Linked DNA regions of Homo sapiens: region 2 is linked to region 1. The links are contacts of gene promoters, found by promoter capture Hi-C in blood cells and fetal thymus (Javierre and others, 2016). All regions are on one chromosome and are shown on one strand. The core of a region is centred on a gene start or on the middle of the fragment in contact, and the rest is flanking DNA. Distances in the headings are between cores, read along the strand shown. Region 1 holds the start of LOH12CR2 (loss of heterozygosity on chromosome 12, region 2). Region 2 holds the start of MAGOHB (mago homolog B, exon junction complex subunit).

The links. The method cuts DNA at HindIII sites, captures the fragments that hold promoters and counts their contacts. A CHiCAGO score of 5 or more calls a contact.
Region 2: a contact is called between a fragment that was not itself captured here and the fragment with the promoter of LOH12CR2 in region 1, in 1 of 17 cell types (total B cells). The highest score is 5.6, in total B cells.

The regions. Positions count from the first base shown.
Region 1 is chr12:12,353,790-12,358,953 of GRCh38, forward strand. It overlaps LOH12CR2 (loss of heterozygosity on chromosome 12, region 2), which reads right to left and starts at 3,278. Exons shown (of 2, transcript NR_024061.1): 1 at 3,139-3,278; 2 at 1,619-3,016. It overlaps BORCS5 (BLOC-1 related complex subunit 5), which reads left to right and starts at 3,289. Exons shown (of 4, transcript NM_058169.6): 1 at 3,289-3,720. The coding sequence starts at 3,663. RefSeq lists a cis regulatory region at 19-454, enhancers at 3,074-3,752, 4,639-4,718 and a silencer at 3,619-3,698. The HindIII fragment of the contact is 7,691 bases long and covers 734-5,164 here.
Region 2 is chr12:10,613,029-10,618,171 of GRCh38, forward strand. It overlaps MAGOHB (mago homolog B, exon junction complex subunit), which reads right to left and starts at 581. Exons shown (of 5, transcript NM_018048.5): 1 at 411-581. The coding sequence starts at 504. RefSeq lists enhancers at 1-517, 302-701, 518-1,395. The HindIII fragment of the contact is 670 bases long and covers 916-1,585 here.

The DNA of each region.
Region 1 (5,164 bases), core at 2,028-4,527:
TCAGAGCAGGAAGGTTTTCATATGTTAAATCTTAAACTTTATCCTAAAGGCATGGGGAGTTCCTGAAGGCTTTTTGTAGGGCAGTGACAGGTCCAGAGACCTAATTAATATTCTAGAAAATTATCTCTACCTGCCACAGGAGGGATGGATTGAGGGACGTGAGGCCAGAGGCCTCTCTTCCAAGAAACGGAAGTGATAAGGCCCTGAAATGGGCATGCAGATAGAGGAGAAATTAAGAGGAGAGGCTCTCCAGGACACAACGATTGGTTGGATGCAGTGCTGACAGTAAGCAGGCTTCTGGCTTGGGAGCCTGGTTGGGTGGGAGTACCAGGTCATATAAAGACACGGGAAGAGGAGTCAGTCTGGAGTGGACAGAGGCATGATGAGTTTTGAAAACGTGAATCCTGGTTTTATCACTCACTAGTTGTGTGACCAAGAATAAATCACTTAACTTTTCTGTAAAATTAGGAAAGTGGTATCTACTTTACACGCAGGTCATAATATAGACCTTTTTATGCAGGTCTAACATATAGACCTGCAGACCTGTAAACTCAAAAAGGCTGTTCAATTGCTAGTTATTACATATACAATAACACAGTTTGCTGCTCATGTAGAAGGGATTTTAAAGGTGCTAAAAGACATCAATCTGAAATGTTTCCTAGCTATAAAGCTCTTCCAGCAGACTCCTTATGTTATATAAATGCTCATTTAATTTTCTTGCCACCAGACTGTAAGCTTCCTAAGTACAGGGATTGGGCCTTGTTGAATTTTTTATTTTTAACGTGTAGCAAGTGCCTAGAACATTTCAGGTTCCCAAGAAATGTTAAGCCAGTGAAGGAAGGAATTTTATCTTCATATGTTCTTTTACTGAATATAGCTTTATGGATATGGAATTTGTATACCATACAATTTACCCTGGTAAAGTGTACTCTACAGTGGTTTTTAATATATTCAGAGTTGTGCATTCATCATTACAATTTTAGAACATTTTCATCAACCCCAGAAAGAAACCCCATACCCAATAATAGTCTACATTTCCCTTCCACCCGTACCCCTCCTCGGCCTTAGGCAACACTAACATATTTCTCTCTCTGTAGTGCTTCTCCTGGACATTTCATATAAATGAAATCTACAATATGTGGTCTTTTGTGATACGCTTTGTTTTTTTTTTTTTTGAGACGGAGTCTTCGCTCTGTCGCCCAGGCTGGAGTGCAGTGGTGCGATCTCTGCTCACTGCAAGCTCCGCCTTCTGGGTTCAAGCGATTCTCCTGCCTCAGCCTCCTGAGTAGCTGGAAATACAGGCGCCCGCCACCACGCCCGGCTAATTTTTTTTGTATTTTTAGTAGAGACAGGATTTCAGTTTGTCAGCCAGGATGGTCTCAATCTCCTGACCCCGTGATCCGCCCGCCTCGGCCTCCCAAAGTGCTGGGATTACAGGCGTGAGCCACCGCACCCGGCCTGACAGGCCTTTTTCATATTGAATAATGTTGTCAAGGTTACTCTATGTTGTAGCATGTATCAGTATGATTTCATCCTTCCCTCATTTTGGCTGAATAAATATTCCATGATTACCACACTTTATTTATCCATTCATCAGTTGATGCGACAGACTATCCTTTTAAGAATGAAATGTTTATTCAAAAGGAAGCATAAAAAACACCATCACATCAGTATGGACTGGTGTATGGAACACAAGACAAATATACTTTTATGTGGAAAAGGGGAAACAAGAACCAGAATGAGTTATTCTCCATTCCTCACCCCTTTTACCTCCTCTCTCACCTTCCCCTCAAAGAGGAAATCTGGGAGGGGATGCAAGGACTCTCCAAAAGGGAATGGTCTCACTGCTTAGTGGGCCCTTCCCAGTCCCATCAGCCTGGTGTGGTTTATGTAAACCTCAAGACTAGTTAGACACAACTTTCTAGAAGCCTGCCCTGATCTCTCAGGCAGTTTTTAGTTCTATCTTCATATTCCCAGAGAACACTGTACTTAGATTCATTTGCATTTTTCTCATTGTATTGCAATGGTGAGCAGAGGAAAGAGCATCAGATAGTCCTAAATAGTTCGACCACTGACCACCTGCTGACCATGGAGGAGTCACCTACTTACAGGCTGCAGGGTTGTTGTGAAAATTAAATAAGGTAAAATAGGGGAAATTATTGTGATATAGTAGAGTGGAAGGGACTTAAAAATCATTTAGTCAACTTGACACTTCTTCTGAGACTTTTTTTTTTTTTTTTTTTTTTGAGACGGAGTCTCGCTCTGTCGCCCAGGCTGGAGTGCAGTGGCGCGATCTCGGCTCACTGCAAGCTCTGCCTCCCGGGTTCACACCATTCTCCTGTCTCAGCCTCCCGAGTAGCTGGGACTACAGGCGCCCACCATCATGCCCGGCTAATTTTTTGTATTTTTTAGTAGAGACGGGGTTTCACCATGTTAGCCAGGATGGTCTTGATCTCCTGACATCGTGATCTACTCGCCTCAGCCTCCCAAAGTGCTGGGATTACAGGCGTGAGCCACCCCGCCTGGCCAGAGACTACATTTTATACATATAAAATCTCAAGGCATTTACTTGAAATTTCTTGACGCAGACAATGTAATATAAAATGAGTTGCAAAGTTCGGAGAACGCTAGAGCCAGCTAACTCCTTGATGGCATTGCATTGCTAGGTCTACTTTCTTGCCCTAGCAAAAATGGCAGTTTCCTTTCTGGATTACTCCCTCCTCACCTTCTGTTAGTTTCAGAGTGACTTGTTGATAACTGCCAAGGTCCCCAGAAAGCGCCTAGCCAAAAAGGTTCTTCACTTCTCTTTAAAGATGTGCACTCCCTAATACATGAAACAGCATTTTCTATTTCTTAATTTTTCTCTCATTTCCAGCTGCTGCTTTCACCGTCTTCTGGTATTTTTTTGTTTGGTCGTCCACTGCTAAACTCCCAGCTCTTCAGAATTCAAAATGAGCTTTGCATCCAAGCTGTTGTGGGTTCGAATCCTGGGTCTATCTAGCGTTTCTTTCTCCATCTGTAAAACAGGGTTAAAAATACCTATTTTGTAAAGTTGTTCTCACATGTGGGTATTGAAGAGCTTAATAGTGTGGGTGGTGTTTTAAAGGTGACGCATCCTTACAACAGGAAAGGGCTTACCCTCTTCCGCAGTTCTGGCTTCGAGGAGGTCAAGCCCTTTAAGGTGGCATCGCCCTAAGTCGCAGGAGCGGGTCTCTCCGCCCCTCCCTCGGGCCGGGGGGCGGGGCCTCCTAATCCGGAACTGAAGGTCTTGCGTAGCCGGCACCGCCCATCTGCGTCCCGGAAGGAGCGAGCTTGCGGAGCGTGAACCAGTGAGTGAAAGCGGCGCCGCCCGCCGGCCGCAGGTGCGGCAAAGCCAGTGTCATCTGCCGGTTCTCTTAGGGCTCCCGGAAAGAAGGAGGGCTAGCCGCGTGCGTTCGCGCCGCGCCTCCTTGCGTTTCTGTTCCCCAAATAGGGCCTCTCCTTCTCCCGCCGCCCAGGCCCCTGCGTGGGCTGGACGCGTCAGCCCCACACATTAGCCTCGCTGCGGCGCCCAGACTCTGCTTTGCCTCCCCGTCCCGGTCCCTGGCCCCTGCCCTGTCGCCCGCCGCCGGAGCGGTGACCGCCCGGCCCGCCGTTCTTCTGCTGCCACCGCTGTCGGCACCATGGGCAGTGAGCAGAGCTCCGAGGCCGAGAGCCGACCCAACGATCTGAACTCCTCAGGTCGGTGTCCTAACCTCCCACCCTCCTCCAGCCCGCCCTGTCCCCTTGCAGAGCGGGCTGCCTCCCAGACTAGGGTCAGGGACTGCGGACGGGAACGCACAGAAAAAGCCTTCACCGTGCTAGTAGGAAAAAAAAAAAGTCACCATCTGTCCTGGCCTCGATTCCCCTGATGGAAGTGCGTGTGACTGCAAGCTAAGCCAGCGTGGGCGCCAGTGCCCTTATTTATTTTCAAAACAGCCGTTTCTCCCAGCTACAGCCTCCTGTTTAAAAGACGAGCTAATTAATTTTTGGCTCTAGTGCTCATGGCTGATGTAGTGAGATTTGGCTCACACAGTGGATGGATTATAGGACCTCTAAGAACAGTCTGTTTCTTAAAAACGGGTGTTAGAGGTTCCTTTTCTGAAGGGATATGTGATAGGTGTCCACTTGCTTTGAACCCTTTAGTGCAAAGGTCTCCAGAAACAGCTTTTTCTTCTCAGAAGGTGTCTTGGTCCGTTTTCTAATCTTGTAGAGGTTGGCCAGACAGCAGGCACTGGTGTTTTCCATTGTTGTTCTCTGTCCATGATTTTTAGACTTCTCTAAGCGTTTGAGACAAGAATGGGAGGATTATTGTGTTTGCAATACAGTGAGTGTTCAATAAATAGATAAAGCAGCTGATGTTTAATTGAGGACCATTTGCTGCTTTTTTTGTTACCCACACGCTAGGACAGCTGGGAGTGCTTTGGTTAAGCTCCGGGGTTGCTAACGCAAATTGGTTAAATCTGGGGCCTAAAAAGAGTCGCCGATTTTAGAAGTTCTCTGTTCTTGATAGGAGCTGTAATTCAGAAATAGGCAAGCTAATAGATCTAAGGGTGTTTCACTTTAAGGTGTGACTTTCAAGACTAGTTCAGACCTACATTCTGGGGACTGGATTGGGGCAGCTTTGAATGGTGAGCAGCATCTACTAGCTTTGCTACGTTTTTCTATTTCCTTGGAAGGGCCAGAGTGTCATATCTGTTATAAGAAATATAATAATTGCCACCTTTGACATTCTTGCCTCTATGGCAGGGCAGAAACATATTTTAGGGGGAAGCGGTGTGGCATCTTTTTAATTTGTTTTCTTGCCCATGAACCAACAGCATTCGAGCATTTCCGATGTTAGAATTTGCCTATTCCCCTGTGCCCGGTACTTTACATACATTTACATATAATTTTTGCAGTAATCCCATTTTACAGATAAAGTAGTAGAGGTTAGCTAGAGTGTTTTGAAGTCCCCTTTCCTCTGGTATCTGGGGAAGGAGGAATCACAATTTATAGCAGGAAAGATTTCTGGCATGGCTTTTGTAAAATGTTAGGTAAATTACCAAAACAGGTAAATAAATATTTCTTGAAAAGAAATAAAAGCAGCAGAGATTTTTCTAGAAGAGTGAATGCCAAGCCTCCGGAGACGAGCTTCTAGGAGGCA
Region 2 (5,143 bases), core at 1-2,500, 1.7 Mb before region 1:
TTGTTAACACGTTGGGCTCCTCCCCTTCAAAGAAAACACACAGCCTAAATGAAAAAAAGGTACTGGTCACCACAAGATTTTATTCATCCACTGGACCACCCGCTGGTGGGGGTGTTTTCAAAAAAGTGCTAGCATTTTCAATCAGGGCGACGATCTAGAGTCCCTTCTGGTGCACTGTTACAGAATTCTGATTACTGTAGGTTCAACTTTTCAGTTTGTGACAGGATTAGCTTTAATTTATTGCAATTAATTCTCTTTCATTTATAAAACCAACTTATGCCTCCTCTATTCTTAAGCTCCTATTTCCTTCGAGGGAAGCAGTGGCCTCCGCCGCCTGTACCCTCCACACCACCCGGCCTCTCGGTCTCGCTCCCCTTTCCCAGCACCGCGTGCCGTGGGCCTCTTCTCACCGTCCGGCCGAAATTCGAACTCCAGAAACTCGTGCCCAAACTTGCCCTTGTGCCCTACGTAGTAGCGCAGGTAGAAATCGCTAGCCACAGCCATTTTTGTACCCGGGAAGCCCGCCGAAAACGCAGCCAACGTGTCCCCCGGCGCCTTGCAGTGACGTCATCGCGCGGAATAAGTGCGTCACCACAGGCGCTTCTCTTCCTCCTGCAGTGCAGCCCTAGACTAAAGCGTGAAAGCCGAGTATCGCGTGAGAGTCCGGAGGCGCTGAAGGGAGGGTCGCAGCGCCGTGACTTTCGCTTTACTAGGAATGGAGGCACATTGTTTTCAAAATAAAGATTACATTATACTAGCAAAGATTAGAAATGTGAGCATATGATAGTCTTTTTTATGGACTTAGAGCTAAAGGTTTGCAAGTCACTTTTACTTTTCTGGTCTCCCAATCCTTGCGGCGTTTGTGAGGTGGGTGTGGCTCTATGCCCCCTTTAACTGTGAGCTAAATAAAGATAAAGCTTAGAATCGAAATGGCAGACCGGGAATATAAACTATTTTTCTTACTTAATTTCTAACAGGGTGCTTTCCCTTTGGATAGCGATTGGTAGTTACCCGGGACCTCTAAGCCTATAATAATAGAGACAAAGTCAAAGGAATCCAACTCTTAAAACCCTCACACCCCCCACACCTGAAAAACCCTGACAGTCACCGTGCTTTTTTTAACAGCAGAACTTCTAAGGTTCTTAATTCATTCAATAAGGGTTAACTTTTAGTAGCCTGTGAAGTTTTGGCAATTTGACTTACGATACAATAATGGTTTAGCCCATTATTGTTTCTCGCCAGATAGAATTAAATTGGGGGAATGAAAGAATGCTCCAGTGTGGCGTAGTTTTTAAGGTAAGGGAAAGACTTTTACACAAAGTTTCCTTTTCAGATATTATTGATCACCCTTTTGTTATCAACACACAGAGTAATCCTATCTGTCGGTTGACAACCTTCAGTGATTTTTAGTAGAAAGTGGTGGAGAGAAGACCTGGGATTCAATCCCAACACTTAACAGCTAACTAACCTCGGGCAAGTGACTATCTCTAAGCCTGTTTGTTCATCAGCCTAATGCATATACAGCAATCTACATTGCCAAGCTCACAGAATTCTTGAGAGATCTAATGAGATAATATGTAAAATAAGCTTTAAATTTTATAAAACATTAGTTTTAACAAACATTTCCTATGTGACAGTTTGAAACTAGAAATAAGCCATTTGATCTGGTAGTCTAGAAAAGAAAGCAAACACGTAAGGCGAATACCAGCACAAGGGAGCAATTGCTATAATTAAGAATATATGTGCCATCCTGGCCAGCATGGTGAAACCCCGTCTCTATTAAAAATACAAAAAAATTAGCTGGGCGTGGTGGCGCGTGCCTGTAATACCAGATACGCGGGAGGCTGAGGCAGGAGAATTGCTTGAACCCTGGAGGCAGAGGTTTCAGTGAGCTGAGATCGTGCCACTGCATTCCAGCCTGGGCAACAAGAGCGAAACTCTGTCTCAAAAAAAAAAAAAAAAAAAAAAGAAAAAGAAAAGAAAGCCTATATGTGGCCGGGCGCAGTGGCTCATGCCTGTAATCCCAGCACTTTGGGAGGCCAAAGGGGGCAAATCACCCGAGGTCAGGAGTTCAAGACCAGCCTGGCCAACATGGCAAAACCTTGTCTTTACTAAAAATACAAAAATTAGCCAGGTTTGGTGGCACGTGCCTGTAATCCTAGCTACTCAGGAGGCTGAGGCAGGAGAATCGCTTGAACCCGAGAGGCGGAGATCGCGCAGTTGCACTCCAGCCTGGGTGACAAGAGCGAAACTTCGTCTAAAAAAAAAAAAGTGTGTAAAACATGCCGGTAGTACAGCAGAGGAAGCAAGAGCATTCTATTGCAGAGTAGGGAAATTTGAAAAAAGAGTATTGGAAAAGGCTTGTCAACGGAAGTGTTTGAATTGGACCTTGAGAAGTAAGTTCTGTGTATGTTCAGTGGGATGAAAAAGCATTCCAGGCAGAAAATGACCCGAGCAAAGACAGTGGTGTGAAAATTCATGTTTGGGGAACACTAAGAAATTCGGTATAGCTAGAGCATAAGGTTCAAGTAGAATGACTAAAAAGGCAAATTGGGCCACGTTTCCTTGAGTCCATATTAGTAGTTATATAACTATTAATATAGAAAAATGAATCAGTCCCTACAATGGGCCACCATTTTGGAAAGTACGTAAGAAACAGGAAGCACCATGTTTTACCACTAGGGTGACTAGCCGTTCCAGTTTGACCAGGACTGTGGAGTTTCCTGGGAAATGGGACTTTCCATACCTGGAAACACCCAGGCAAACTGAGATGGGTTGGTCACCACACTTACCACAAGAATAATTCACAGAAATTTGAACACTCTATTCCGTAGTATCTCTGGAAATATCAGCTGTAATCCATTTTGTTGAATTATATGGAAAGCCTCATTCAATATCTTAGATTCCCTAATGTCTCTCCTTCAGGTTTTTGGCACATGTGCCAATGTTCATCTTCATGTTTACCTAAATAGAACTATGGATACCAGAATGTGTAACTATATAAATAGAGGTTACAGAATGCACAAAGTATTAACATCTTTGTTAAGTGGGCCAGTTACTGTCTTGATCTCCAAAAATGACATAGGGGTTCAAGACTATAATCCTACCTGTTTGTAAGATAAAATATGAAACTATATTTACTTAACTCTCTATATTTTAAGCCAAAATTTGAACCTTTTGTATTGAAGCAAGAATTACAAAGTGATAAAGCATTTGCGTTGTGTTGTATTCTTGGATGGTACACAACAGTGATGTGGAAATGTTCTTCTGTATGGCTGCTGAGCCCTTGAAATGTGACTACTGTGACTTCGAACTGAATTCTTAATTGTGATTAATTTAGATTAACATTTAAATAAACACATGTGGCTAGAAGCTACTGTGTTGGTCAGCACAGTTAGAATCTTTTCATACACTTTTAGTTGGGCTAGAAATAGCAAAAAAAAAATTGTGAACATTTTCAAATTGCTTGTTGTAGGCTCCAAATTAGGACGTACTTACTGATATCAACACAGTTTACTTATGAAAATAAATATTTGAGCTGCTTAAGTGAAGCCAAAATACTGTTTCCACCTTTGCTAACACAGCGGTAAATTTCAAAGCACAAAGTGAAGTAGGTAAGAAATAAACGTTTTATTTCCATCTGAAATTAGGGCTTAATGATCAAATCATTCTGACTTCCAATTTTCAGAAACATGTTCCATGTTTATTGTGATAAGCACTAGGTATTATAGTCTCATGTTTTTAATTTATGAATAACGTCTGATTCATTTGATTTTGTATTTACAGAAGAAAAGATGTCAGGGCTATCTCATTCAGTTATTAATAAATGGATCAGAGTAGTAAGTCAAGAATAAGTGCATAATGTGGTTTAAATTTTAAAAAATACTCAGAATGAGGTAGTATTTTAATTTTTAATTCATCCACCCACCTTGCTCTTCTCTTTTCCATAATAGACTTCCCTGTGGACGTTAGCCTTATCTGTCTTTTTACCACTTAGTGGTATTAACTTTTTAAGTAAGAGAATCATGATCATGCAGAAACACCAAACTTTCCACACCATTCGTTATCACATATGTTCATATATGGCGAGAACTTGGAGCTACTTCTAGATTACCATGACATGATATATTTAATTCGATTGTTCAATCTAAAATTTTTTTCCAGCAAATGACAATATTATATGCTTCAAACACATAGCATAATCTCTAACTCTTTTCCCCAAAACGGGTAAACACAGTATGCTAAATTAAGGGTAATAGGATATCTTCCAGTCTTCCACTGTATTTGCTACTTATTTATTTCAGTAAGAGTGTTAAAGCAAAATTTAAAAAAATTATTGCAACAGAGTTAAGATTAAGAAATCTTAATTAACTGACTTTTTTTGTTTTAAAATGCTAAAAAAAAACCCACTACTATTATTTGATTTTAATAACAGAATACCTAAATCTGGCATAAAAAAACATAGTGTGCTCCATAAGCATAATTTAAGAACTACTGGTTCAGACTATTCTATTTTAAACGACGTTACCAAGTTTCCCTTAGACACTGTATCTAGGTGGGTGTTTGCGTTGTTCCTAAGTGTTGGAATTTTTTTTTAACAATAAAGCATAGATTGGAAAAACAAGACTGGAAGAGAAGGCAATCAAAACAATACAACAAAATCTATCTAGAGTCAACCCGATTAAATGATAAATATTTTGATTCTTTTTTTCATTCATTAGCTTGGAAACACCTAGTTTGGCTGAAAGGTCAATGATGCCAGAAATATCATCCTCCTTCTGGAAGAAGCCTGGCCAAGTGAGAGAAAGACCCAGTTTTCTTAGAGTAAAAATTACTGTATCCAGTTTTCCGGGCCGGAAAAACAAATAAAATTGGGGGTAAAAAACTTAAATATCAATTGTCTGCTTCTTTCCCTCCTACTAAAAGAAATATGACAGTACAACAAAGCAACCTTCCATTTCACTGTGTTCCACTTTCCCTTAGCTCACCGTGCTGCAACCCATATGCTTTCTTGCAGTTCCTTGCCTCAGAATTTTCACGCACACATGTCCTCCTCCTGGGAGACTCTTCTTATTCGGCCTGGGTTACTTACCCATCCCTAAGGTCTCAGTTTATAGCCCATTTCTGTTCAGGGAAGTGTTCC